Regions from separate parts of the Homo sapiens genome. Here regions 1 and 3 are each linked to region 2. The links are contacts of gene promoters, found by promoter capture Hi-C in blood cells and fetal thymus (Javierre and others, 2016). All regions are on one chromosome and are shown on one strand. The core of a region is centred on a gene start or on the middle of the fragment in contact, and the rest is flanking DNA. Distances in the headings are between cores, read along the strand shown.

Region 1 (4,483 bases), core at 20-2,519, 1.5 Mb after region 2:
ACCAGCGCAAACAGGAACAGTCACTTTGCAAAAAATAAGCAGACCACAAACCAAGCCGGGGCTCTACCGAGCTTTCACTTGTCAACAAGTTCTCGCAGCCTGCGAAGTCCAGGACAGATCCCAAAGGGGAGAATGTCCCCAAAGAAAGGCAAGAGAGAAGAACAGAGTTTAAAACTTCACCCGAGCCATGCTTGTCCCTCCCCCTTCCCCCTCCCCCACCGCCGTGGATCACAGCGTCCCGGGACAGAGTGACAGATGGGCCAGAACTCCGCAGACTGCTCCTGCCCGCCGCGGCCCGAGTGGGGGTGGGCAAGGGAAGGGTCCCGAGGCCTCTAGGGCAACAGGGCCCCCTCCACTCCCCCATCCCCGGCTCTAAAAGACAGTGTTGGCCGCAGGGTCCCCGAGAGATACGCGGCCCGGCGGGGCCCATCCATGGCCATCCACGGCCCCCGGCACGCGCATCCAGCCCAGCGCCGCCGCACCCCGGGGTCCCGCGCGGGGTCCCCGCCCCCCGGCTGACCCGCCCGCCGCTGCGACCCCGGGCAGCCTCGCCAGCTCTCCACCGTTGTCTCCTCGGCTCACTTTTTCCGTATTGCTCCCCCAACCGGCAAAACTTTCTATTTCCCCAAACACTGCCGTGCGCGCGCGCGCGTGCACACACACACACTCACACACACACACTCACACACACTGACGTCTTTTGCGCATTTCCTGCATTAGAGGGAGGGAGACTCGCTCGCACACCGACAGAGGGAGAGGAGACCGCGGGGGAGCGCGGGCTGGCGGGCGGCGAGCGAGCGGCAGCCGAGAGCGGGGACGCGGGGAGCGCGGAGGGCGGGCGCCGGCGCCCAGGAGGTGGGGCCGCGCTGAGTCGCAGTCCCTGCCCCGCCGCCGCGCTGCGCACCGCCCGGTGCTGGCCTGCGCCCCCGAGCCGGATCGGCGGCCGCCCGGACTCCGAGCCCGCGCGGATGTGAGATTCCGGGCTCCTGGCGCCTCCCGATCGCCGGCTCCGGCGCGGCGCTGCTTCGCCCAGGAGGCGGCGGCCCCGGCTGGCCGTGGGGCTTGTGGATTTTTAAAAATTTGGCTCCGAGGAGGACCATTTCCTCTCGACATGCATCCCTCCGGATAGACTGAACATCCCTCCGTTCACCCCCCCGCCCCGCGCGGTCAGAGGCAGGCGCTGAGTGTGCGAAGAGGATCCGGGTTGAAATCTGCGCCCCCGGTTCTCGTCCCCGCCCCGTCCCACCGCCCCATCCCCCTCCCGGAGTCGAAATTTCCCGGGATTATGTTTCGGAAAGGTAGGTAAGCGCCGGGCGCGGCGCCCGCTTTCCCGCAGTCCGGAGCCGGAGAGCCAGCGAGGCGGCGAGGCAGCCCCCGCGGCTTGCAGCGGAGCCGACAGCTCGTCTTCTCTTCTGGAGGTGCAGCTGGTGGTCGGGGGGAGAGACTTGCTCCAAACACGGACATCCCCCAGCTCTCCCCCCTCCCTGTTTTCCGTTAGGAACCCGGCGAGGAAATACATGCACTGGCTGAGAATCGCCCGCGCCAGGGCGCAACGCCACAAGGTGTAGGGAGTGTGCGGGGTGGGGCGAAAGGGGACCCAAGAGTCCCTGTGGCTCGGAGTGCCGGGCCGTCGGTTCTTCATTCCTGCCCTCGGGGCAGACGGAGTGACCCCGGCCCCCACTCCCCGCCCCGACCATGGTAGTGTTCAATGGCCTTCTTAAGATCAAAATCTGCGAGGCCGTGAGCTTGAAGCCCACAGCCTGGTCGCTGCGCCATGCGGTGGGACCCCGGCCGCAGACTTTCCTTCTCGACCCCTACATTGCCCTCAATGTGGACGACTCGCGCATCGGCCAAACGGCCACCAAGCAGAAGACCAACAGCCCGGCCTGGCACGACGAGTTCGTCACCGATGTGTGCAACGGACGCAAGATCGAGCTGGCTGTCTTTCACGATGCCCCCATAGGCTACGACGACTTCGTGGCCAACTGCACCATCCAGTTTGAGGAGCTGCTGCAGAACGGGAGCCGCCACTTCGAGGACTGGGTGAGTGCGGCGCCTCCCCGTCATTCCGGGAACCCGGTTGTGGGGTCCCGGGGAAAGACTCGCTGGTCTTGATCGTAGGGCTCCGGGACTTATTGACGACTGGGGTGTGTGTGCCTGTAAGTCTCAGTTTCCTTGGGGAGGTACACTTCACTTCATAGTTGGGGAGAAACAGGCATTGGCGAGGAAGATGAGACTTGGAAAGAGGATGTGGCCCTCTGCTCCCTCTGTGCCCTCCAGTTGGTGGGTGCTGCGGGAGGTTTGCAAACTGGGAGAGCCTGGGCCACTGGTGCTGAAGGTTGGCCGAGGACCCGGCTTTCTTCCGCAGGCGCGTGGTGGGCTGGCTGTGTGTGATTGTGTGTGGGTGGGTCCCTCCGTCCTTGGAAAGGCACGTGGAGCCTTTGACTGAAGGCTTCTTGCACGTCCTGGCTTTGTCCTGCTTAGCCGAGCGAGGAGTTGCTTTATTTTTCCCTCCGAGAGGAAGCTGGCTTGTTTCTATTCTCTTGCATGGTGGTTAGCTCATCTTCTGACATACAAGTAGAAAAAATGTGTTCTCCTCCAGGATGTCTCCTCTATGGTCCCAGAAACATCAGTCGAGCTTGTTTTGTCCAATTCATTGCCCATCCATGCAGAATGAATGTTGCATTTTAAGAAGGGTTCTGCTTGTGGGTAATTGGAAGTCAGTGCTTTGAATCTTATTTAAAGTTATATTGTTTCTCTGTTTTGATTGTCAAGATACTGTGCAATAAAAGACGATTTCTAAGTATGAGATTGAGTTGTTAATTGATTCCATTATTAAACTATTAAGGATTTGGAAAGAGGTCTTGTCTCAATCTACTATAAACCAAATGCATCCAGTCTTGGCACTTGGACAAGCAGAGAGAAGCAAACCTTCATTTTGCTTTTTGTGTTTGTTTTTGGGTTGTTTTTTTTTTTTTTTTTTTTTTTTTCTCTCTTCTTGGAAGGAAGGTATTAATTTAGGATGTGGATTTTTGTGTTTTCAGGTTTGTTACATGTTTCCAGCAAGTACAAGCGTTCCTCTGGAGGTATATGTTTTCAGGGTTCTTTGGTCTACACAAAAAGTGAGAGAGCTATCTAAGCCTCAAAAGTGGTGTAGAGCAATTGCTTTCTATTGAAAACCAGCTAACTTCATGAATGTCCTAGAGGTCAGAGGTTGCACATGGATCACTTTGGCATATCACCTTACATATTTTTTTCAAGGACACGGAGTTTTAGGGAAAAATAAGAGAGAGCCTGTTGTTTTTGTGCTCATGGCTGTGATGTAGTCTGCCTGAAACCATGGTTACGGTTTCACAGGGAAGCTCCAACAAGCCACATGCGTAGAACTCTAGATTTGTGGTTTGCACTTTGGAAAGCAGGCAAACCTTTATGGAATCCCAGAGAACTCCATGCCATTCTATTCTACTTCACAGATGTCCCTCATCTCTGCTTCCTTCAGCCCCCACAACAGAGCTCCCACTCATTCCCCATTTCTTTTCCATGCATGGCCTTTGGGCCCTTTCCTCATGAATGCAGTGCATATGAGAGGGGGAGTGGAAGGGATAACTAATTTCAGAGGTAGACCTTGACTCTGAAAACCTGTGATTTTGGAGTTGTTGTTTTTGGACAGGAAGGGGGTGGAAAAAACTTGACGCTGGTAGCTAGGAGATGGGAGCCTTTTGCAGTGTATGCAGATGAGGGGCTTGGACAGTGGGGCAGAGAGCAGGGATGAGGAGCAGCAGGTCTGCATTTATCCATAGAACAGATGTTGGTTGGAGGGAGAGTGTCTTTGTATCTCTGGTGATGCTTCACTGGGGCACACCCCAAACTCTGGGAGCTTCAGGACACTGTCCCCACCTTCATCCCTCCTAGTGAAGCATGCAGTGGGAACTTGTTTGGTTATCATCCTCTAAGGTTCTCAAATTCATGTTGGATTTGGCCCTAGGCCAGATCATCTAGTGCACAGGCAAGTTTTACAGATGAGGACATTGAGTTCCAGAGAAGCTAGTTGGGGACCGAGGGTCACATGACAAGCAAAGGTGGGTTGGAAGTAGGGCCCTCACCGCCTGTTGCCCATGGCTTGTCTGATGGGGAGCCGAGCCTGCCCATCTGGCCTCCCAGCCTATTCTCCCTGCAGATCCATGTGCTGTGTCCCTGACATTTTTATTGTACTTGATAACTTCATCTCTTTTGCCTTATAGCAACTGTGAATTAGGTATGGCAGGTATTGGACAAACTAAAAAACTTGAGATAGAGAAGCCCAAAGTCTGAAGGATGAGTCAAGCAGTGGAGCAGGTTCAGAATGCCCATCTGTTTTCACCAGAGGATGCTGTAGCCACTCTGGTTCCTCCAGGCTGAAGGTGGGGACTCATTGGCAGGGGTGACTGGCCCCTGGAAATGGAGACAAGTTGCAGCTGGGCTAAGTTCACCTTTCCCAGTCTTA
Region 2 (4,487 bases), core at 431-2,930:
ATTTTACACCAAAGTAGGAAATAGGTTTAAGTTCTTTTAGGACATTCGGATTAAAAAAAAAATATATATATATATATATATCCTAAGGTAAGTATTAGAATACCTCTATTACACTTTTGTTTCTCGTTTGGAGAATTAACATGGCAGCATCGTCTAATTTGATAGCTGGAGGAGTCATGTCCACTTTCCCCATCGGCCTGTTAAACCCCTATCATTCATTCTTGACTCATCCTGTGTCTTTGTGAAGCCTTTCTTGGTAAACCTATGCACAAGGAAGACCCTTTATGTCGTCACCAGCCCTTGTGCATGTTTCAATTGTAGTACCTATCATCTTGTACTGCGATTGCCTAATTTATTTTTGTATCTCCAGTTCTACATACAGTACCTGGCAAACAGTAGGCGCTCAATAACTGCGAAATGAACAAGTCCATGTCAAGAGACTAGGCTGGGAGTTTTAATATCAATGCCGACTGAGAAACAAAATACGGAAATGTCAAGGGCTGGTATAAAAATAATCTCTAATAGCACAAAATCCTCCTGAAGGGAACACCTGTCCCACTTTCTCACGTTGCTTTCCAGGTTCTTCCGACACCCCAATTTCCCGCCCACTCTTCTCCCTCCGGGGTACAGGTCAGGCAGGTATCCCAGCTCGGCGGCTCTGATAGGTCGGCGATGATTTCATTGTTAGGGAACATCCGGGCCTTTCCCCTCCCCGCAACACCTCCCCAGAGCCCGGCCTTCCCAGTTTCCCACTCTCGCCTGCGCCCCACCCGCGGCTGAAGCAAAACAACCGCCTCTCCCCTGCCCACTTCTTGTCCTCGTCTGAGTCGTCCCTTCCCGTCTCCACGCCGAAGAGAGGCGTTTAGATCCTCCAATGAGGGCCTAGGAGGACTTTCTTAGCCAATCAGTAGCCAAGCCCCTGCAATTCCGGGTGGGACCAGGCGTCCACACCTATAGCTGGACTGCTCGTTGGTCCCTTATGGCGCTTCTTTTACGCGAGGCTTAGAGGTCAAATACAAGGGGGCACGGTCCTCACAGAACGGAAAGGATCCGTACAGACTCTCCGGGTTTGACCGTTTTCTAGGACGAACCAATCGCTTTCCAGATACTTCCCCGCCTTTTGCGCGTTCATTTGAAAAAAGCCGGTGTGACGGACTTGGAAATTGGCTCAGTGACTGACCCGCAAGAAAGCCAGTGACTGGGGGTTCGGATCACGAGTTGGACCAATAAGAAAAGACAATCGCTGGGGCCGGGGCTTTGCTAGGAGGAGCGCAGGTGGGCGTTATTTGATTGACGGAGGGCTCTACTTATGGCTGGTAGCGGGGGCTGGTCCCTGACGTTCGGGAGGTAGGACCTAGCGGAGGCGGGGCCGAATAAAGTAAATGGTAATAAAGGGTTGGGTCTCACTTAGTGGGCGGTGTTTGATGGACAGCTGACCTTGCCTATTGAAAGTAGCCACTGATGCCCAATGGGAAATTAGAAACCCAGAGGCGGGGCCGGGTGGGCGGGGTAAACGAAGTACGGAGGTGCCGAGGGAGCAGCACGGGGAGGGGGAGCGGTGATTGACAAGACTCCCAGCAAACCGGGGGCCGTGAGAGGGCGCGCGGCATCCCAGTGGGTGGCAGCTGGAGGCGGGGCACCCTGAGGGGCGGGGAAGGACTAGGGTGCGGGGAGGGGGTTGCAAAAGGAGCCGAGCGGCTTCTGCTCAATGGCGGAAAAGCCGCCGGTGCTCTGACGGCCTCGTTCCCCTAGCAGTTGCGGGGGAGTTTCCTGCCGGCGCGGCTGGAGTCTCTGATTCTCAGGGTTCGGTGGTTGGAAGATGCTCCAGAGAGACGAGGCTGCGGCGGAGGAGGTGGCGGCGGCCGAATCGGCAACGGCGCTAGGGTGGAGAGAAGGCGGCATCGGCGGCGGCGGCGGCGTGAGGGGCCGGGCGGTGTAAACAGCCCCGGAGGCGGCGGTCGAGACCCCGAGGGGGAAGCGGCGGCTGAGTCAGGGTCGCGCCTCCGTTGGAAACTTGGGCTGAGTACCGCGGCGGGCGCGAGCGAGGCGCCCTAGACATCTTCTCCCTCCCTTGCCTCAGGTAAGGCCGCCCGGCACCCCGCCGGAGGGGAAGCGGCTGACCGGCCGCGCCGCCGAGGCCCCGGGCCCTGGGCAGGTTTTCGCGGTGCTGCCGAGCCGCGGCCGGGGCCTCTGTCCTTCCGAATCCTCGCTGCTTTCCCTGCTGCCGCGGAGCCTAGGCAGGGGAACGCCGGGCCTGGCTCTCGGGTATAGGCCCCTTCCCCGGCCGCCGCCTCCGCTGGGCTGAGGTCTGGGAGAGGCGCAGGGAGAGAATGGGAGTTTGCTGGAACGCCTGGAAGCTGACTGATTCTCTCTTCCCTCCGCTTCAGTCTGCAAGCATCTCTTTCACACGAAAGCACTGGGGCTACCCCAAGCCTTGGCGCTTCTCTTCCTGGTGCATGCCCTGTTTGAAAACACTATCTTTTACCATTCGTTTCCTCATCAGCTTCTGCCCTACTCTGCGCTCCACTTCACTTCCTTGTTAAATCGTCTTTCTCTGCTGTCTATGCGTTCTACCCTCGCCTTCCCTCCTTAGTGGCTTTAAATTGTGTGTTTCTCTTTTCTTCGTACCCCGGCATCTCTTGCCTGTCTTCCCTAGCACCATCCTTTTCGGATGTCATTCCTAACAGTGAAGTTCTTAATTGAAACTGCCACTTATTGTCAGTACCCCAAATCTACCGGAGCCCCATTAAGAGTATAGACTGACTAGCCATATGTGGTAAATCAGTTTTTCATAGTTTAAGCCTAACAACCTTGAAAAAATTGTATTATTAAACGTAAAGTGTGAAAATAACACCGAAAATAATTTTTTAAATGAAGGACTCAGTGAGTGTTGGAAATAGTTATTTCTTCATTTTTTAAACTTGCATGACCTCTCATATCAGATTTAGCAGATCTGGGACGTTTGCCCATCTTATTCGGCAAAAAAAGTGCTTCTTAGGCGTTTGATAGCAGCCCAAATTCATCAATATTCAATTTCTTCTAAGAACAACTTGAAAACTTTTTTAAAAAGAGACGTTAATAACTGGGAAGTTGTTTTGATAGTCACAGTTAAAGAGCTTTTAAAATAGGCTCCACATGTTTAATGTATCAAAATAAAGTTGGCAGGCATGTTGTAAAAGGATTATTTAGGAATTTGAGTAGTCTTAGTGTTATGTAGCTATTTTAGGAAAAACATTCTTTTTCTGTTAACAAACGTTTACAACTACGGTGATGTGAGAATTACTGAGGCTTACTGTGGGATTAACACAGGAACTGTCTTTATTTGAGCTACTGCATGGATGAAGAAGTGGTAAATTGTTCAGAGTAGACAGTGTAAGTCACAGTATGTTCTAGGAGATGGAGAAACATGCCATGGACGCTGAATGTTAATAGATGTTATTTCATTTACTTTCTCTGTTGTGCAATAGCAAAGTTCCTATTGTTGGCCTACTTTTAAATGGGGCATTTCTAAGTAAATAGTGAGACAAGTTATTCTAATTATTATGATAGTCTTTTCCAAGTGTACAGGCCTTTTAAAAATATAGTTGAAGTAATGGTAATTTTTTAAGGAAATGTTTTTGTAGGTCTGCCAAATGGACAGTGTGTTGTTCTAATCGAAATTTTAAAATTAAGTATTTAGAACAGAATATTTTAGTCCACACATTTTCAGGGATAATCTTTATTTTGTGCTTCTTCTCTCAATGCCTTCTTTGTCTTTTTTTTTGTCTTAATGGTTGTTGTGTTTTCGCCTCTTCATTTGTTTTTGCTCTCATGAAGTCTTACAACAGTTTCTGCAGTGGTTCTTTTTGTTGCTGTATATTAGCACGAGTATTTTTATTTGAGCTTTCATACTGTAAGATTTCCCCAGTTTCTAGTACATTATCCTCTGGATTTGTTGAAGTGATTGTTCTCTTTGAAGTGACCAGCAGAGCTTTCAACACCGTTTTCTTACACTGGGTGTCTGATTTCTGTGAAGACTCTAGGAATAGGTGAAAGGCCTTTCAATTTAGTCATGTCAGTAAATACTGTTTTATGTTAGTAATTCACCTAATTACTAAATTCCTTAAGATTACATCATCTGAAGGAATAGTGTAGTGTCCAAGTAACTGTGCTTCTAAGAACAGCTGATTCACAGGTTGACAGGGTCAGAAAAAGTGGCTCTTGTTGAAAGTTATCTTTTCTATAACAAACATTTTTTATGGAATCTTTTGAATTAAAATATGATGCTGATTATGTCTTGGCAGTCTTGGAAGCTTAGAATTGGCCACGGTATCACTTAGTGATTGTGGTGATTCATTAAAAAGAGGCTATATAGGCCAGGTGCGGTGGCTCATGCCTGTAATCTCAGCACTTTGGGAGGCTGAGGCGTGTGGATCACTTGAGGTTAGGAGTTCATGACCAGCCTGGCCAACATGGTGAAACACCATCTCTACTGAAAATACAAAAAT
Region 3 (4,387 bases), core at 1,086-3,585, 1.4 Mb after region 2:
TAAGTAACTGGGATTACAGGCGTGTACCACCACACCCAGCTAATTTTTCTATTTTTGATAGAGACGGGGTTCGTCACGTTGGCCAGGCTGGTCTCGAACTCCTGGCCTCAGGTGATCTGCCTGCCTCGGCCTCCCAAAGTGCTGGGATTACAAGTGTGAGCCATGGCGCCTGGCCAGAAAATTCTTTAACAGCTTCATTGACATATAATTGACATGCAATACACTGCACATGTTTAAAGTGTGCAAATTTGATGTTTTGACATATGTATACATATCACTACAATCAAGAAAATGAACACATTATCATCCTCCAAAGTTCCATTTGCTAAGTCAAAATGTTACAAATCTTTTTTTCTTTCATCTCACATATCCAGACTATTAGTAAGTCACATAAGATCCTCCTCCAAAATGTCTTGAATCTCCACGATCTTCAGTGAGCCTTTAGTCCTCAACCTCCCTCACTTGAACTACCACACTCGCCTCTTAACTGCCCTCCCTACTTCCACTCTTGCCCCTGCAACTCATTCTCCACTTATCAACTCAAGATCATTTAGAATATGCTTTAGAAACAACGAATTACTTCCCACCCCATCCTTCACTTAGAATCAAGCCACATTTTTATGAGGCCTTTGAAAAGGCCCTGTCGGACTGAGCCCTGCTCACCTTTCTAACCACCTTTACTACTTGCTGGAGCTCCTCAGCTCTTGTCATAACATTCTTTCCCACCTCAGGTACTCTCTGCCTGGAGTATTCTTCCCCCTGCTTGTCAATTGGCTGGCTCCTTGCATCCCTTAGATCTTAACATTTCAGGCCTAAAATAGGTTTCTCAATTATATTTTAAAAGGAGCCTATTTACTTCCTGTATACAGTAGGTTATAACACAATCTGTAATTATTTTTATTTTACTTGTTTATTGCTTGCACTGCTGTCAAGAGAGTAAATACCATGAAAGAAGGAAATGCATGTGCCTTATTCACTTCCATATCATAGAACCTAGCACTTAACAGATGCCCTACAACTATTAAATGAACATAATATGTACAAATATGGTCTCTACAGAGGAATATACATTTATTTTCCACCACTCTTAGGCAATGCCACACATTGCATTCATCTCTTTCTGAAGAAGTGATGGCACATAAGAATATTCCTATTCTTCAGTGACTTGGGATTTTTCCCTCCTTTCAAACTATCTTAATCACTGTAGGCACATGAGCATATTCCAAACCAATAATTTGGAGGTTGCTATGATGTTACTAAGGGAAGAGCCACTAAACTAGGACGACTGCAAATCAGGACAAAGGGGCAAAAGGACGTGCACACTAACAAATACTAAATTAAAATTGGAAAAAAAAATTTAAATTCAAGAAGGCAAACAAAGGAGGACAATTTCTTAAGAAGCACCTAAACAAGTTTCCATGAAGGACCAACAGAGTGCTTGAATGTTAGCAGATTCCCAAGTCACAAAAACAAAATACTAGAGCTGAAAGAACCTGAGATCAGACAGTCCCGCTATATTCAGAAATCTGAGACCCAATGAGGTGAAACAGTTTACTCAAAGGGGAAAGATATGTGGCAAAGGACTATAGCCCAGTGCCTGGAACACCAAGACTAGTCTCGTTTCCCATTCCACACACAATATGTTAATGACATGTCACGTGAGGGGTTCGAGGAAAGTTGCCTAGAGAGTTCCCAATTCATTCCTTTCCTCCGGTTACTGAGCGCCTCCTACATGCCAGGCGCACTACAGAAGGTGCAGTTGATTCAGACAGGGCCACCATGACCGTGAAAAGGGTGCTTCCTCTCCCACCTCCGATAATTTTAGGTATAAAAACAATCCAGGTAAATTAGCCGGGTGTGATGACGGGCGCCTGTAGCCCCAGCTACTCGGGAGGCTGAGGCAGGCGAATGGCGTGAATCCGGGAGGCGGAGCTTGCAGTGAGCCGAGATCGCTCCACTACACTCCAGCCTGGGCGACAGAGGGAGACTCCGTCTCAAAAAAAAAAAAAACAGGCTTGCCCAGGCTTTTCTATGTCTGTTATGCGCTAAGAGCTGCAGCAATTTGGCTGAAAAGAGGTGTCACGAGGTAGCTAGGAGGGGTTTTCGGGTGGTCGGTTGTGAGAGACCGCTGACAGTAAAATGTAATGAACTTCTCACTTTTAAAAAAGGGGTGTTATTGCCCAAATGAGCGCTCAGAACTTTTTTAATGGCCCCAAAGATCCCGGAGCCCGGACGCCGGGCTCTTGAGAACCCGCAAGACGACCGCCAAGGCGCACGCACAGCTCACCTTCCCGCCCGGCACGTCAGAAGACCCGAGATTCCGTGAGTGCCACCGCACCTTCCGGTTCCCGCCGGAAGTTTTTCAAACGCCAGAAGGTCCGCCTCGCTTCTTCCGGACCAAGTTAGCCACAGACCTCCAAGGCGCGGCGCTACCGAACGGGGCGGAGCCAGGCTGGACGGAGGCGGGGCTAGAGCGAGGATCCCGAGGGAGCGCCGGGGTGGGGCTGGTTCGTAGAAATGAAAAATGACTTTTTTTTTACGTGTTATTTACCAAGAACACTAAACTCTTAAGCCCACAGATACAGCCAAATAAATTAGATTATAAAAGTAGGGAAATAAGGCTGCTGTTGTCTACATTCGAATTTAGCAGATCAAAACCCCATGGATTTGTTTTAGAAAATTCTAAAAAGCAGCTTTCCACTGCTAATGACTTATTTCCAGGGACTCTGAGTACTGAAGAGCCTAGCAAGTTATTGAAATGACCTGTGACCGTGCCTTGTTGCAGATCTACCGGAAGTGAGCATAGATTTTACTGGATAATTTTTGTGATTGGGGGAAAAAAAAAAGGATTCTTTCTAAATTTAGTAAATCTAATCTTCTATATCTGAGATTGTTGGCCAGGAAAGATCAGTTTCCGAGATTGTTTAGGGATTTTTTTTTCCTTTTAATTAGCACAGTCGTATGTTGCCTTTAGTGATGGTTCCAGAAGGCCTAGAATTGTCTACTACAATCACAGTCTCCTTCACAATTTATGGTCCTGAAGAAATACTAGAGAACACCTTACCGTTCAGGATTGTGGGAAGAGAAACCAGATCATAGAAATCAACAACAATAATGTACTACTTACTATTCACCTACTTTTGATGTTGCATTTGCTACTCAGGTTTATGGTAAGGGGTTGTCTTGGTCAATTTTCTGCTGCTGTAACCAAATACCATAGACTGGTAGATTTATAAAGAAAGAGATTTGTTTGGCTTGTAGTTCTGAAGGCTGGGAAGTCCAAGACAGAGGGCATTATTGTTGTGTCAAAATATGATGGAGGGCATCATACTGGGGTAGGGGTGGGGGAGGCATGTGAACCCAATTGACTCCCGAAATAACTAACCCTCCTGTGATAATGGAATTAACTCATTCATGACCTAATCATTTCCTAAAGGTCCCACCTCTTCATACTATTACAATGACAAGTTTCAACTTGAATTTTTGAAGGGGACATTCCAATCATTGCAGAGGTAGTAAGGGTAAAGGTGAACTAATATACTGCAAAGTCTTTTGACATAAGTCCTGCCCTGGAGGAATTTACGACCAAGAGTAGGAACCAGATACAGCCAGAGGAAACAGACACCCAAGCAAAACAGTCTAGCTTCAAGGGTTGGGTATGCAGGTAGTAGCCACACTACAGTGAGGAGGAGAGTAAGAGTGGGCCAGCAAAGCATTGAAGCTTGACTTTCCTCTCCCCACAAGGGATTTTTGCCTTACAGCTGGGGAAGAAAAAAAAAATCACAAAAATAAATAGCCTGTTAAGATTTTAGACATCAGACATCTGGGGAAAATAAAATCTGAAGCAGGTTCTCTAAAATTAAAGTATGTAGGTAGTGGCCTACTCTAAAGGCCAATAAGGACTGTCCAGAGAATATTTCCCTTGGAATTCTATAAGAGAGTCACTCCCACTACACGCTGTCAAGGAAAATTTGTAATCACTTAAGTATAAAACAGGCCCTCCCACAAAAACTGCCTTTTCTGTCTAGGACATTGCCCAATCTATTGTTTACTTTTGGATCTCAAGTGCTGAATTCCAAGAAATTCATGGGTTTAGACTGAAAGCCTGGAATAATCCGGACACCCACCTGAGACTATGCAATAGGGTTTGGGAGTAATGAAAACATGTTTTGGATTTGATGGAGGTTGTTTTATCCCTCCAAAGTATATAGCTCTTCCCATGATATTCACTGATACATTATCATTTGTATGTTATTATCTGTTTTCAAGTCCTTCCCCTATGGGTTCTAGCTCCCCAGGGCAAATGTAATAATAATAGTAATAACTTACCTTTATTGATTACTTACCTGTGCCAGGCACTAAGTTAATGCTTTTAGATGTATTTATG

What was found. The method cuts DNA at HindIII sites, captures the fragments that hold promoters and counts their contacts. A CHiCAGO score of 5 or more calls a contact.
Region 1: the fragment with the promoter of PRKCE here is called in contact with the fragment with the promoter of PPM1B in region 2 in 1 of 17 cell types (fetal thymus); the score reaches 5.0 in fetal thymus.
Region 3: a contact is called between the fragment with the promoter of SRBD1 here and the fragment with the promoter of PPM1B in region 2, in 8 of 17 cell types (fetal thymus, monocytes, total CD8 T cells and 5 more). The highest score is 14.6, in fetal thymus.

What each region holds. Positions count from the first base shown.
Region 1 is chr2:45,650,406-45,654,888 of GRCh38, forward strand. PRKCE (protein kinase C epsilon) reads left to right here and starts at 1,270. Exons shown (of 15, transcript NM_005400.3): 1 at 1,270-2,043. The coding sequence starts at 1,696. It overlaps LOC102724965 (a long non-coding RNA gene), which reads right to left and starts at 810. Exons shown (of 2, transcript XR_005647119.2): 1 at 1-810. RefSeq lists silencers at 430-529, 700-1,169 and enhancers at 545-839, 1,328-1,948. The HindIII fragment of the contact is 7,889 bases long and covers 1-4,483 here.
Region 2 is chr2:44,167,195-44,171,681 of GRCh38, forward strand. PPM1B (protein phosphatase, Mg2+/Mn2+ dependent 1B) reads left to right here and starts at 1,681. Exons shown (of 6, transcript NM_002706.6): 1 at 1,681-2,080. It overlaps PPM1B-DT (PPM1B divergent transcript), which reads right to left and starts at 1,598. Exons shown (of 2, transcript XR_940034.3): 1 at 104-1,598. RefSeq lists silencers at 1,382-1,711, 2,032-2,241. The HindIII fragment of the contact is 4,313 bases long and covers 1-4,290 here.
Region 3 is chr2:45,608,932-45,613,318 of GRCh38, forward strand. SRBD1 (S1 RNA binding domain 1) reads right to left here and starts at 2,336. Exons shown (of 21, transcript NM_018079.5): 1 at 2,288-2,336. RefSeq lists an enhancer at 1,987-2,156. The HindIII fragment of the contact is 4,677 bases long and covers 1-3,719 here.